2 separate regions of the Homo sapiens genome follow, and region 2 is linked to region 1. Evidence: promoter capture Hi-C in human tissues and cell types (Jung and others, 2019). All regions are on one chromosome and are shown on one strand. Each heading gives the region's core, a stretch centred on a gene start or on the middle of the fragment in contact. The rest is flanking DNA. Distances are from core to core; before and after follow the strand shown. Region 1 holds the start of MYO3B (myosin IIIB). Region 2 overlaps UBR3 (ubiquitin protein ligase E3 component n-recognin 3).

What was found. The method cuts DNA at HindIII sites, captures the fragments that hold promoters and counts their contacts. A contact is called where the count stands out against the background at its distance.
Region 2: a contact is called between a fragment that was not itself captured here and the fragment with the promoter of MYO3B in region 1, in 2 of the 25 tissues and cell types used here (H1 embryonic stem cells and mesendoderm cells).

The regions. Positions count from the first base shown.
Region 1 is chr2:170,176,897-170,183,679 of GRCh38, reverse strand. It overlaps MYO3B (myosin IIIB), which reads right to left and starts at 5,533. Exons shown (of 35, transcript NM_138995.5): 1 at 5,391-5,533. The coding sequence starts at 5,392. RefSeq lists an enhancer at 3,122-3,351. The HindIII fragment of the contact is 10,734 bases long and covers 1-6,783 here.
Region 2 is chr2:169,976,842-169,983,748 of GRCh38, reverse strand. The region is part of intron 24 of UBR3 (ubiquitin protein ligase E3 component n-recognin 3); the gene reads right to left. Among named protein-coding and RNA genes, the nearest start is that of UBR3, 150 kb to the right of the region's middle. The HindIII fragment of the contact is 5,554 bases long and covers 2,799-6,907 here.

The sequences.
Region 1 (6,783 bases), core at 4,284-6,783:
ACAAAAAAACATAGAAATAAACACTGGGAAGATGGTGAATATAAAATAAATAGTGGAATGATTTATTCCTGGAAAATCAAAGTTTAACAATGAAAAAAATTAAGTTGATTCATTGAGGAGCTGAGTATAAAATTAGCATCTAGAAATCAAGCAATTTCAAAATATATTTTTCTATATGTTAAAAGTAATCAGCCAGAAAGAAAATAGCATTTTAATAGGAATTAAAGAGAGTAAAATGCCCAAAGCTAAACCTAACGAGAACAGAGCAGAATGTATAAAAGTAAAATCTTAAAATCAATGGATTAAATGAAAAGAGACCAAAAAAATGCAAAACCATATACCTTATGCTTGGATAGAAAACCTTACTGTGAAGATGTCAATTCTTCCTAAATTTAGTCTGAAAGTAAATAATTGTTTTTTTTTGAGACAGAGTCTTGCTCTGTGGCCCAGGCTGGAGTGCAATGGTGTGATCTCAGCTCACTGCAACCTCTGCCTCCCAGGTTCAAGCAATTTTCTTGCCTGAGCCTCCCAAGTAACTGGGATTACAGGTGCATGCCACCACGCCCAGCTAATTTTTTTGTATTTTAGTAGAGACGGGGTTTCACAGTGTTGCCCAGGCTGGTCTTGAACTCCTGAGCTCAGGCAATCCACCCGCCTTGGCCTCCCAAAGTCCTAGATTACAGGCATGAGCCACAGCGCCCAGCCGCTTTGTTTTTTTTTAAGAATTTGACAAAATGATATTAAACTTCATTAGAAAATTAAACACATGAGGGCTGGTCACAGTGGCTCACACCTGTAATCCCAGCACTTTGGGAGGCCAAGGCAGACAGATCACTTGAGGTCAGGAGTTTGACCAGCCAGGCCAACATGGTGAAACCTCGTCTCTACTAAAAACAGAAAACTTAGCCGGGTGTGGTGCAGGTGCCTGTAATCCCAGCTACTCAGGAGGCTGAGGCAGGAGAATAACATAAACCTGGGAGGCGTAGGTTGCAGACAGCTGAGATCACGCCACTGCACTCCACCTTGGGCAATGGAGTGAAACTCAGTCTCAAAAAAAAAAAAAAAGAAACAGAAAAAGAAAAACACATAACATGAAAATTTTAAAAAAGAATAATTAGTGAACATAATTTGACCAGACACTAAAACATGTTATACTGCTAGAGTAATTAAAACATTATGCCACAGGGGTAGAAATAAGTAGTCAGATCGTTAGACTAGAAACCAAAAGTAGACTCAAATACACAAAGAAATAGGGTTTATGATAAAAATCACATTACAAATCAATAGGCAAAAGATGGACTAAATAATACTGTTCAATAAATTATGCTGGCTTAACTTGCTGGCTGTTCAGAAAAAAAGTTAAGCCAGATTGCTACCTCATTCCTTTCTCCAAAATAGAGTATGGTGGCTCAAAATTTTTTAAAAAAATATAGCTAAATACATTATAGTCTTGGTGTAGGCAAGAAATATTTTCAAGTAGAATAGAAAACTCACAAGCCCTAAGAAAAAAATTGATAAACATAATTGCATACAAGTAAAAAGGTCTCTACAACCAAAAGAATTGTTGTAAGTACTAACATTTTTCCAAAAAATAAATAGAAAAGAAGGTTTGTATCAGGAGCTAATTTTCTATCAAGAGTATATACAATAAAAAAGAAAAAGACTCAAAAAATTTAAATGTATAAAAGATGCTAAATCTCACTAGTAAATTTTAAACGGCAAATCAAACTAATGAGATACCATTTGTCTCCTATCACACTGTCAAGATTTTTAGAAGTTTGATAATAGTGTTAAGAGAAATAAGCACTCTGAGACAACATGAGCGAAAGCGTAAACAATCTTTGTGAGGAATTATTAGTCAAAATCTACCAAATGCCCATTCCCTTTGTCTCTGTAATTCTACTGGTAGGCATTTACTTTACATATATAATCAAAAAAAGCACACTTAGATTTATATTAACAGAACATAAAAGAAAAACCATCATCTCGATCGATGCAGAAAAAGCATTCACAAAAAATTCAACATTTATTCAAAATTTAAAAACAACAACAAAAATCTCTCAACAGACTAGAAAGTGAAAGGAACTTCTTCATCTGATACAGGAATCTAGGAAAAACCTGAAGTTAACACCACACTTAATGGTGAAAAACCGAATGCTTTCACCTTAAGATCAGAAGCCAAGGATGTCTGCTCTCATCATTTATATTGAATACTGTGGTGAAGCCAGAATAATAAGTCAAGAAAAAGAAAATTTAAAAATCCAGATTAGAAGGGAAGAAGTAAAATGGGCTTAATTTGAAGATTACATGATTATCTATTTAAAAAACTGATGGAATTTATAAAAACATTACTAGAACTAATTAGTGAGTTTATCAGAATTACAGGATACAAACAAGGTCAATATTTTAAATTCAATTATATTTCTACATACTAGAAAGGAAAACTTTTCAACAGTGCTAAAACAATTGTAGAGCAATATGCAAAAAGAAAAAAAGAATCTTTATCCTTACACCACATATAAAAATTAACTTTAATCATTAAACAGATGTAAGAGCTAAAACTCTATTAAACTTGAAGTAGATAGACATACAAGATTGTTCACTATAGTATTATTTTCAGTAGAAAACCAGATACAACCTAGAGGCCCATCATCATGGAGAGATTATCTAATAAATCATAATAGTTACATAAAATTAAATACAATGTAGCCACAGGTAACCACCAAAAAGAAAAAAGGTAAATTTTCTGCCAATTAATATGGAAAGAATGCCAAATATACAATTAAGATTTGTTTTAAAAGTGTTGAATAGTGTATAGAGAGGACAATTTTTGTGTAAATACAAAGAATATTTGCATTTCTAGTCATTTTATGTGTATATTTGTGTGTATGTCTCTATGTATGTGTATATCCTTATATACATTTTTCCAGAAGGCTACACAGGAAACTCTTAAACTTTAGGGAGAGGTGGTAAAAATCAGAGAGTTTGGAAAAGAGAGAAATTTATATGCTTTTTAAAATTATTACACATTTTTAGTCATGTTTTTTGCTAGTGCATATGTTATTCTACTTTTTAAAATAAATATTTTTTAAAAAAACATATAAGAGATCTCTACAGAGGAGACTATTATGACCCAAATGTGTGCTGAAGTCAGAGGATAGCAGAAACCATATGAAACAGAGGCTCATCCTGAGAAGAAAAAGAAAACAGAGAAATAAGAAACTGAAAGGACCATGCTTGAGAGAGTGAGACAAAGAGGATTAGTGAGTGGGTTCACTGTGAATTCTACATCTTGGCCCTCTGAGGCCTGCTAAGCTTTGCTGTCTGTCCTTGTAACCCATGAAATTTCCTACTGCATTCTTCCAAGCAGCCCCTCTTTTCATGAGCTGATTTGAGTTTCTCGTGAGCTAGTTTTAGTTCCTTAACAACCCCAAATTGGTCTAGTCTGATCCCTTGTTGAATACCCTGAATTAGTCCCTAACGGAGGTACAGCCTTACCTTGTTGAAAGTAAAGCACTCTGCAGCATGCACCCTGTGAATGTCTGCAGTTAGTCAAGCCTAGCGAGCATGATTTAAATAGAAACTTGCCCAGCAACATTTTATACTCATTAGAAAATTCATGATGAAGATTTCCATTGCTCAGTATGCTATTCAGAATATTTTTTCTAGATGTTATAGTATGGTATATATGAATCACAAATCATAGAATGCTTTCAAATCTAGAGAATAGATTTTAGAAAGAAGAAATCGGAAACCTGAACTGTGAAATGTCAGAGGAAATCTGTACAAATATTAAATATAACACCCAGAGATACACAGAATAAGGAAACACATACCATACAAGCGTGAGTAAATTAGAGAATAATTCCAAACCAATACATAAGCAAGTGCATAATAGTTGTGTTAGTCCATTTTCTGCTGCTGTAACAGAATACCACAGACTGCATCATTTATAAACAATAGAAGTTTATTTGGCTCATGGTTCTGGAGGCTGGGAAGTCCAAGATCAAGGGGCCACATCTGGTGAGGGCCTTCTTGCTGCATCATAACATGGTGGAAGGTCTCACATAGTGAGACAGGGCAAGAGAGTGAGAGCTCAAGAGAGAGAAAAAGGAGACTGAACCTATCCTTTTACTAGGAGCCGTCTCCCACAATAACAGCATTAATCCATTCATAAGGGCAGAGCCCTCATGACCTAGTCACCTCTTAAAGGTCCCATTTCTTCTCACAATGGCAATTAAATTTCAACATGATCTTTGGAGGGGACATTCAAACCATAACCATGGTAAAGACGTAAGAGTAGGAACTGGCTTCTTCACAAACCACCTATCTGGATGCTGCTAGATAGGGCCTGTTCAAGTATAGCTCAAATGTCTTCTCTTCTAGGAGGCCTTTCCTAATTTTCCCACTAGAACTGACCTTTATGGTTCCACTGATTATGTACTCTTTTCCTTTCTTTAAATTTTATTTTATTTTAAGTTCCAGGTTACATGTGCAGGACGTGCAGGTTTGTTACACAGATAAACATGTGCTATGGTGGGTTGGCTGCACCTATTAAGCCCCCCATGCATTAGCTATTTATCCTGATGCTCCAGGGGAGACACTCAGGACTGGCATTTGACAGAGCTTGGTAGAGGAATCCAATGATCTCTAGGTTGATCTCTAAGTTCCATCTCTAATGTTCTATGGATTTTAAACCTTGAATATACAAAATTACTGAGAGGAAGAAAAGAATCATGGCATAATGGAATTTATCTACTATTGTTTACATTGTCATGTTACCAAATTAACAAATCTGTCATGATATTGCAGTCACTAAGGAACAATACATACCCACAGCTCTTACAAATGATTAACTAAATGATCAGATTTTTCATTTCCCCACCAAAGCATGAGGAAATTTATCTTAGCTTTAGCTGCCTGAAACCTCTCTTGGGTGAAAAACATTAAAAACATCTGCAAATTACTGATGACTAATGCCCTTCAATTTGGCCTCAAGCTGAGAAATTCTGTGCAGAAATAAAGTGGTTTATAATCCCACAGGTCCATTCTATTATAAACTGCAGGTGGCAAATCAAGTGACTATGAACTATGCTGTGTGTATGTGTGTGTGTGTGTGTGTGTGTGTGTGGTGTGTGTCTGTGTAAAAAGCAATACTCAAGAGGGTGTTTATCCTACTCCTTCAAGAGAAATTTAACCACCCAGACAAAAGGCAAATGCTAACTGAGAGGACCCAGGAATCTGGGTGATGTCAGACAGAGGCCCAAAGCCAGAGTGGCTGTCATCCCCCTCCACTGCCCACCAGCCAGGGCAGCTGCATCTGCCCTTTGCAGAAAAACAATCTAAAGCAAGCACAGAAGAAAGCTGGAAGGAAAATAACTGCAACTCACATCGATGACCTATTTTCTGAATCCGGCTTATGAGAGATTGGATTCTCATTCCTCCAAAAACCAGCAGAACACTTCAGGCCCAGAAAATGGTGTCTTTGATGACTAGAATGTATGACACATCATTACCAAAGGACTTTCGATCTAGGTTCCAAGAGGTGTTAGCCTCAGATGACTATTGTGGGAGGAGCTGATAAATCCACCAAATCCTTGGTGACTTTGCTTCACTATTAGGCAAGATTAAGATGATGCTAATTGGTAGTGAGCCTGATCTATTTAGTGTCTCCTACCAGGACACAGAGCAGAATCAAAACCATTCTCACAGATCCTGTTTGCATGTCATTTAACAGTTCCAATGTGATATTCCCCCAACCTTTTAAAGTTCCTTCATTCCAGATTAAATTCCTTCATTCCAAATGCTGCACAATCAAAACTAATCATCTTTTTGTGAGCAAAGGGCATAATCAAAGCATGTAGTCAGGGTCACTTTTCTGAACTGCAGATAAACCCAGGGGAAACACCATGAGTTTCTGATCTGAATTACCAAGCAATGAAACAGTGACTATTCAACAGTGACTATTCATTCAGTAGCATGCCCTGGGCTATATACAGAACAGTAGGTTAAGAGGAGGCAGGGGGTGGGGGGGTGGTGCTGGGCATGGTGGATCACGCCTGTAATCCCAGTACTTTGGGAGGCCAAGGCTCGTGGATCACCTGAGGTCAGGAGTTCGAGACCAGCCTGGCCAACATGGGGAAACCCCATCTCTACTAAAAATACAAAAATTAGCAGGGTATGGTGGTGTGCGCCTGTAATCCCAGCTACCAGGGATGCTGAGGCAGGAGAATTGTTTGAACCTGGGAAACGGAGGTTGCAGTGAGTAGAGATTCTGCCACTGCACTCCAGGCTGGGCAACAAAGTAAGACTCCATCTCAAAAAAAAAAAAAAAAAAAAAAAAGGGAGAGAGGGGAAGTGAGAAACAGGAGGGTAGGGTCCCCAGAAAGCTTCTTTTCTGGCCAGCTAACATGACACATAGGCCCATGTGAAATAGTTGAAGACTGTGCAATAACACTGGATAAGCTATATCCATCAATTCTGAGGAGGAGTCAGTTCAACCCAGGACCAAGACTTGAGTGGGAATGCTTCCTGGAGCAGATAAATCTAGGTACAGTTTTGAATGAAGAAGTGAAAAGGATTAGTGTAGATGAGGCAGGAGAGAAACCCAGAGCCAAGAAACAGCACACAGAGAATGCAAATATGAAGAAGGTGATTTAAAGGACAGCGATCTTACTCCCGCTAGTCAATAATGGCCTTTGTGTTTCCATTTACTGTCATAAGAATCTTAAGAATGGGGATAATGTGTTCTATCTTCCTATATTTCCTACAGTATTTGCACAT
Region 2 (6,907 bases), core at 4,326-6,825, 200 kb after region 1:
CAGCTGATTCTTCTGAATGCTATTACACTTAGCCAAATGACCGCAAGATGGCCCCAATTCTCCACTCCTCCCTGTATCCATGCTCTTCACAATGTGATACTGTAATTCCTCCCATCAAGAGAGAGTTTATTTCCCCACTCCTTGAATATCAGCTGGCCTTGACTTGTTTTAATGAAGAGAATGTGGAGGATGGGCGCAGTGGCTCACACCTATAATCTCAGCACTTTTGGGAGGCCGAGGCAGGTGGATTGCCTGAGGCCAGGAGCTCAAGACCAGCCTGGACAACATGGCAAAACCCCATCTCTACTAAAAATACAAAAATTGGCTGGGTGTGGTGATGCGTGCCTGTAATCCCAGCTACTCAGGAGGCTGAGACAAGAGAATCACTTGAACTTGGGAGGCGGAGGCTACAGTGAGCCAAGATCACACCACCATACTACAGCCTGGGTGACAGAATGAGTGAGACTCCATCTCAAAAAAAAAAAAAAAAAAAAAAGGAGAGAGAATGTGGCAAAAACAACAATATGCCTTCCAAAACTAGGCCTCAGGTGATCTTGCATAGTTTCTCTCTCCTGCTCTCACTCTCAACTCCACCTTGCACAGTTTCTCTCTCTTGCTCTCACTCTCAACTCCACCTTGCATAGTTTCTCTCTCTCGCTCTCACTCTCTCAACTCTACCATCTCCATGAGAATAAGTCAAGGTGGGCTACCTTGCCAGAGGAGGAGAGACCAAATGGAACACACATAAGTTGTCTCACCAGCTCATGGCAGCCCCCTGTTAACCAATCAGCAGATCACAGACCCACAATTCAGCCCATGGGTCTGTGGGTGATGAGATCAGCTAAGCCTTCTCCAGAAAAGTTTGGTTCACAACAGAACCACTGAGTCTTCTCATTGACTGATGAAAACTAACTAGGGGTTGTTTTTTTAAATCACTAAATTTTGGGGGACAGCTAGTTACACAACAATTGCTAACTAATATAATAATTCTACTGTATGTTAATTATAATATAGAAACTCAAAAGAATTGAAGTACTTTGCCTTACCAAGATGAGTCATGAAAACTAATATTTAAAGTAATAAAGGTGTTTCCGTCTGGAATATTTTCTAGTCTAAGGAATTAAAAAAATCATTTTCCAAAATGATTTTTATCTTTAATATCTACTTATTTTACAACCATTAATTTAACATCATCAGAGTGAAAAGCTTCCATATTCACAAATACCACAGTTCTACTTCAAGAGTTTACACTGTTACATAAAATTTCCTGTTCTAATATTTGTTAAAAATAGTTAGAGCCTATTTTAATATAAAATTAATCTTTAATTACAAAATAGCCTTTGCCTTTCTTAACCTTTATATTTATAAATTAATTAGATTAATTTAAACTAAAATAAGTATTTATAGAACAATCAAAAATCTTCTTGCTTCATGTTTTGCTTTCATGTTTGTGGGTTTTGTGGCTGAATGGAAGGATGGGGAAATGATATAGGGATGATGTATTCGGTGCCCTCAAAATCATGTGAAATACATTTTTATTTGAAAGAGGAATAAGCAACTGCAAAACACAAGTAGCTGGTTTGCAGCCCAGTGGCAGGCACAGAGAATTTTTATTGCATACATTAATAGAAAATTTTAAATTTTTTAACACAATTTAATTTTTAAAAACAACTGAGAAGTACTTGCTACTAACCTAGCAGGTGAGTTACTATTCATAAACTAAGTACACTACCAGAGTTCCCTGATTTCTGCTAAGAAGTCTGACTTCCCTCAGATAAGTGCCAATACTGCAAAACTCCCACTGCACACTATCATTAATTTTGATAAGGATTTACAGTATTATCTTCAATTAGTCATCATTTTTATTATCATTCTTGCTTTCCTCTTTTTTTAGTTGGTGTATAGAGTATTCGCTTTCTTTTTTAAAAAATAATCTTCCCATTTTATAATAGTTTTAGATTTGCAGATACTACATGTACCCTCCCCCCCACAGTTTCATCTTAAACTTTACATTAGCATGGTATGACTGTTAGAATTAATGAATATATATTAATTTTTATTGATACAATATTGACAAATTAACTAAAGTCCAACTTTTTTCAGGCTTCCTTCATTTTTATCCAATGTCCTTTTTCCATCCCAGGATACCACATTACATTTAGTTGTTATGTCTCCTTATGTTCTTCTAAGAAGAAACTGTGACAGTTTCTCAGACTTTCCTTGTTTCCTTGCTTTGATGAACTTGACAGTTTTGAGGAGTAGTATCCAGGTATTTGCATAACAGTCCTCAATTATGATTTGTCTGATGTTTTTCTCATGATTAGTCTAAGGTTATCGATTTTAGAGAGGAAGATCACAGAAGCATCATTCTCATCACATCATATCAAGGGTACATAATATTAACATGAATTACCACTGCTGATGCTGACCTTGATCACCTGGTTAAGATGTTTCCCAAGTTTCTCTACTGTAAAATAACTCTTTTCCCCCTTTCCACACCAAGAAGCCATTACATGCAGCTCACACTTAAGGAGTGGGGAGTTATATTCCACCTCCTTGAGGGTAAAGGCTCTACATAAAATACTAGGTATTCTTCTGCATAGGAAACTTCTCTATGCTACCTTATTTATTCAATCATTTATACTAGTATATACTCATTGATATTTCTTTTATACTCAGGGTTATAATGCATTATACTTTACTTTGTTGCTCAAATTGTTCCAGCTTTGGCCACTGGAAACTCTCAGTTGACTCCTGTGCCCCTTGACATAGCCCCAGCCCATATCATCACTAGAGGGGGTGGGGGTTGTTTGTTTTTGAGTACCCCTCTACTTTCTGGCCCTATGAGATACACCAGATCCACCCTGCATGTTCCCTGCCCCAGTTCTTAAAAATCAACCATGCCTCCAAGGACCCTAGTTCCTCTTTTCAGCAAGGGAGGAGGGGACTGTATTAGAAACCAAGATCGGGGGGAGGGGGGAGGGGGGAGGGATAGCATTAGGAGATATACCTAATGCTAAATGATGAGTTAATGGGTGCAGCACACCAGCATGGCACATGTATTCGTATGTAACTAACCTGCACTTTGTGCACATGTACCCTAAAACTTAAAGTATAATTAAAAAAAAAAAGAAACCAAGATCTGGGCAATGGGTGTGCTTGTACCTGGGAAATATCCATGAGTACATACTAATATAAATGAACGAACAAATAAACAAGGGAACACAGATAAGTTTCCTTAGCAGAAGAATGCCAAATATTTTATATAGTGCCTTTACCCTCAAGGAGGTGGAATATAACTCCCCATTCCAGTTTCTACTGGGATGTCCTTGCTTCTAGGCCCTTTCAGCTGACAAAAGAAGGGACTACGTGTCTGTACACTAACTCATGCATATGCATATGCCTGTATTTATACATATATAATTCCATCTTTATCTAGAGCTGTCTAAACATGAGTTCATACTAATGTCTCCAACTCTAATCCATTATTATCACATGAATCATTCTAGCCTTCTCCCCTTATCTGTAACTTCTTACTCCAACGGCGAGAAATCCAGCTCTCATCATCTGCCATTCATTTACTTAATTGTTCAACCTCAGTATATACGTATAGTGGTTTCAGAATTGTTAACTCATGATGCCATGGGGAAACTTTTATTCACTGGTTATACACAGTTTCTTTTGCCTTTAGTCTTATTGTTGCTATTTATTTCCAAAGTTAGGTAGCCAGCACCTTTCCCCCTACTCTTTTCAGTGAGGTTGTTTCATACATCACAAGTTCATACATCTGTAATACAGTTATATTCTCCTGTCATAGTCTGCATTCCATCCTGGGATCACCCCAACTCCTAAATGATTTTTTAAAATATACATACTTTAAAGATTCACTCTTTCTGCTATAAAGTTCTAAGGGTTTTAACAGTGTTACATATCGAACTTTACTGTGTCACACAGAATAATTTCAATGCTCTAAAAAAACTCCCATGTTTCATTTATTCACCTGTGCCTCAACCCTGACAACCAGTGATCTATTTACTGTCTCTAGTTTTGCATTTTCCAGAATGTCATATAACTGGAAACACACAGTATGTAATATTTTCAGATTGGCTACTTTCACTAAGCGGTATGTATTTAAGATTCATCCATGTCTTCATGTGGCTTAATAGTTCATTCCTTTTTATTGCTGGACGGTATTTCATTATACGTATGTGCCACAGTTTCTTTATCCATTCATCTATGGAAGGACATCTTAGCTGCTTCCAATTCTGAGCAATTATAAATAAAGTTGCTATAAAAATAAGTATGAAGATTTTTTGTGTGGAAATAAGTTTTTTAATCAGTTAAATAAATATCTAAGAGCACAAGTGATGGATCATATGGTAAGATTAAGCTTAGCTTTACAGGAAAATGCCAGACTCTTCCAAAGCAGCCGTACCATTTTGAATTGCAACCATCAATGAATTAGAGTTCCCACTGCTCTGTATTCTCACAAAAAATTGGTAGTGTCAGATTTCAGGATTTCGCCATAGCCATGTAGTGGTATCTCACTGTTGTTTTACTCTGCATTTCCCTAATGATAATGATGCTGAGCATCTTTTGACATACTTATTTACCATTCTTGCATCTTCTTTGTAAGGTGTCTGTTCAGATCTTCTGCTCATTTTAAAAACTAGGTTATTTGTTTTCTTATTGTTGAATTATTTATATCTTTTGAATACCAGTCCTTTATCAGATGTGTGTTTTGCAAATATTTCCTCTCAGTCTATGGCTTATCATTTCATTCTCTTAACAGTACAATACCTCCTGGGGAACTGATGCCCTGGCTGAGCTACAGAGCCTAGGGCTAGGCCGATATAACACCCCTCATCCCAGGAAAACAGAGCAGTGGCTGAGCTGAGACATTCCTCCATACAGGTCAAACAACTCTAGTAACTTGCTTCCCTGGAGCTAGACTAGCCCCTAGAGTCTGAGCTGCTGAGACACCCTTCTCCATGGGGAGTGGACTCCCTGCTGTGCTGCTCCATAACCCTCAAGGGCCCAAATGACATCTGTATTTGGCCATTCTGACATACTTGCTGACACTGCACCTGGGATCACAGAGTCTGGGATACTGCCAAGCCCCACCATCACAGGGTCTAAGGTAACCACTACACAGTACTACATCCCCAGGGACATGGCTGCTACTAAGCCCTACTGGCTCAGACTCCCAAATAGTGGCTATACCCTGCACCCTGGGCTCAAACCTCAGGAGCACCCTTTCTTCCCCAGAGGCAAGATGTGACCTGTTCCCCCGGGGTAAACAACCCAACTCCCTGAATCCAAGCTGCTAGAAGGTGCCTCAGAGTCACAGATCCTGACTCTGTGGCAACCTAAATCTACCCCTACAACAGAGAGCAAAATGTCACGCCAAGACCCAAGTGCCATAATAGGTTCATGAAACCCAGGCCCCACAGCCCCTCCAAGCACCTGCACCTGGAACCCAGCGCTGCTACTGGTACTCACAGTCCATGAAAGACATGACACCAAGAGGGATCCCCTTGGGTAAGTCTCCCCACTGTGGAGAAAATGAGAATAGGCGGAGCCCAAAAGGCCTTGCCACCAAGGACATTAACAGCCTATGTCACCACTGCTGCTACCACAAACTTCTATAGCCTAGGCCACAGTTATTGCTGATGTTGAACACCACCAGAGAAGCTGCATGGAAGTTATACCACTATACCCACCCAGAAACAGAGTCACCACATCTTTCCCAGCCAGCACACTAAGATTCAACTGCAGGTGAATCATTCTCTACAAAAGCCAATCTAGGAAGTTCAGAAGACACAACAATTCCACAAGATGTACAGATATCAATGCAGTGACATAAGAAACATGAAAAAGCAAGGAAATATGACACGACAAAATGAACTGATGGCTAATACGAGGTGTCAATTTGACTGCATTGAGGGATGCCTAGATGGCTGGTGGAACATTGTTTCTGGGTGTGTCTGTGAGGGTTTTCCAGAGGAGAATGACATGTGAGTCAGTGAATGAAAGAGGAACATCTGCCATCATTGTGGGCGAGCACTATCCAACAGACTGTGGGTAAAGCTAGAACAAAGCAGGCAGAAGGGTGATATTCAGCTTGCTTGGTTTCCTCTCTCTCTCTCCCTCCCAGAGCAGAACACCTTTTCTCCTCCTGCCCTTGGACATTTGACACAGGTTCTTTGGCCTTTGGGCTTTGGGACCTGTAACAAAAGACTCTTGGGGGTTTGCAGGCCTTCAGTCTCAGACCGGGTACTGTACTGTCAGCTTCTCTGGTTTTGAGGGTTTTAGACTTGGAATGAACCATGGTACTAGCTTTTCTCATCCCCCGGCTTGCAGATGGCCGATCATGGGATGTCACCTTTGTAATTATGTAAGCCAATTCTCCCCAGTAAACTCCCTTTCATATATACATATCCTACCATTTCTGTCCCTCTGGAAAAACCTAATATAGATTTTGAACTTCGTATCTCTCTAGTAACAGACCCAAATGAAAAGGAAATCAACAAATTGCCAGGAAAAAAAATTCAAAAGACGAATTTTAAGGAAACTCAATTAGATACAAGAAAATACAGATATATAATTCAATAGAATCAGGAAAATTTCTTATGCATAAGAAATTCAACAAAGAGACAGATATCATGAAAAAGAACCAAACAAAAATCCAAAAGAGTTGAACCAAACAAACAGCTGAATAAATCAAACAAAAAAATACCACAGAAAGCTTCAACAGCAGACTTGATCAAGTAGAAAAAGGAATCTCTGAACGTGAAGATAAGTCATTTAAAATTACTTGAGGGGGAAAAGAATACAAGAGTGAAAAAAGCCTATAAGATTTATGGAACACCATTAAGTGAACAATTAAGAAGAGATAAAAATGGCA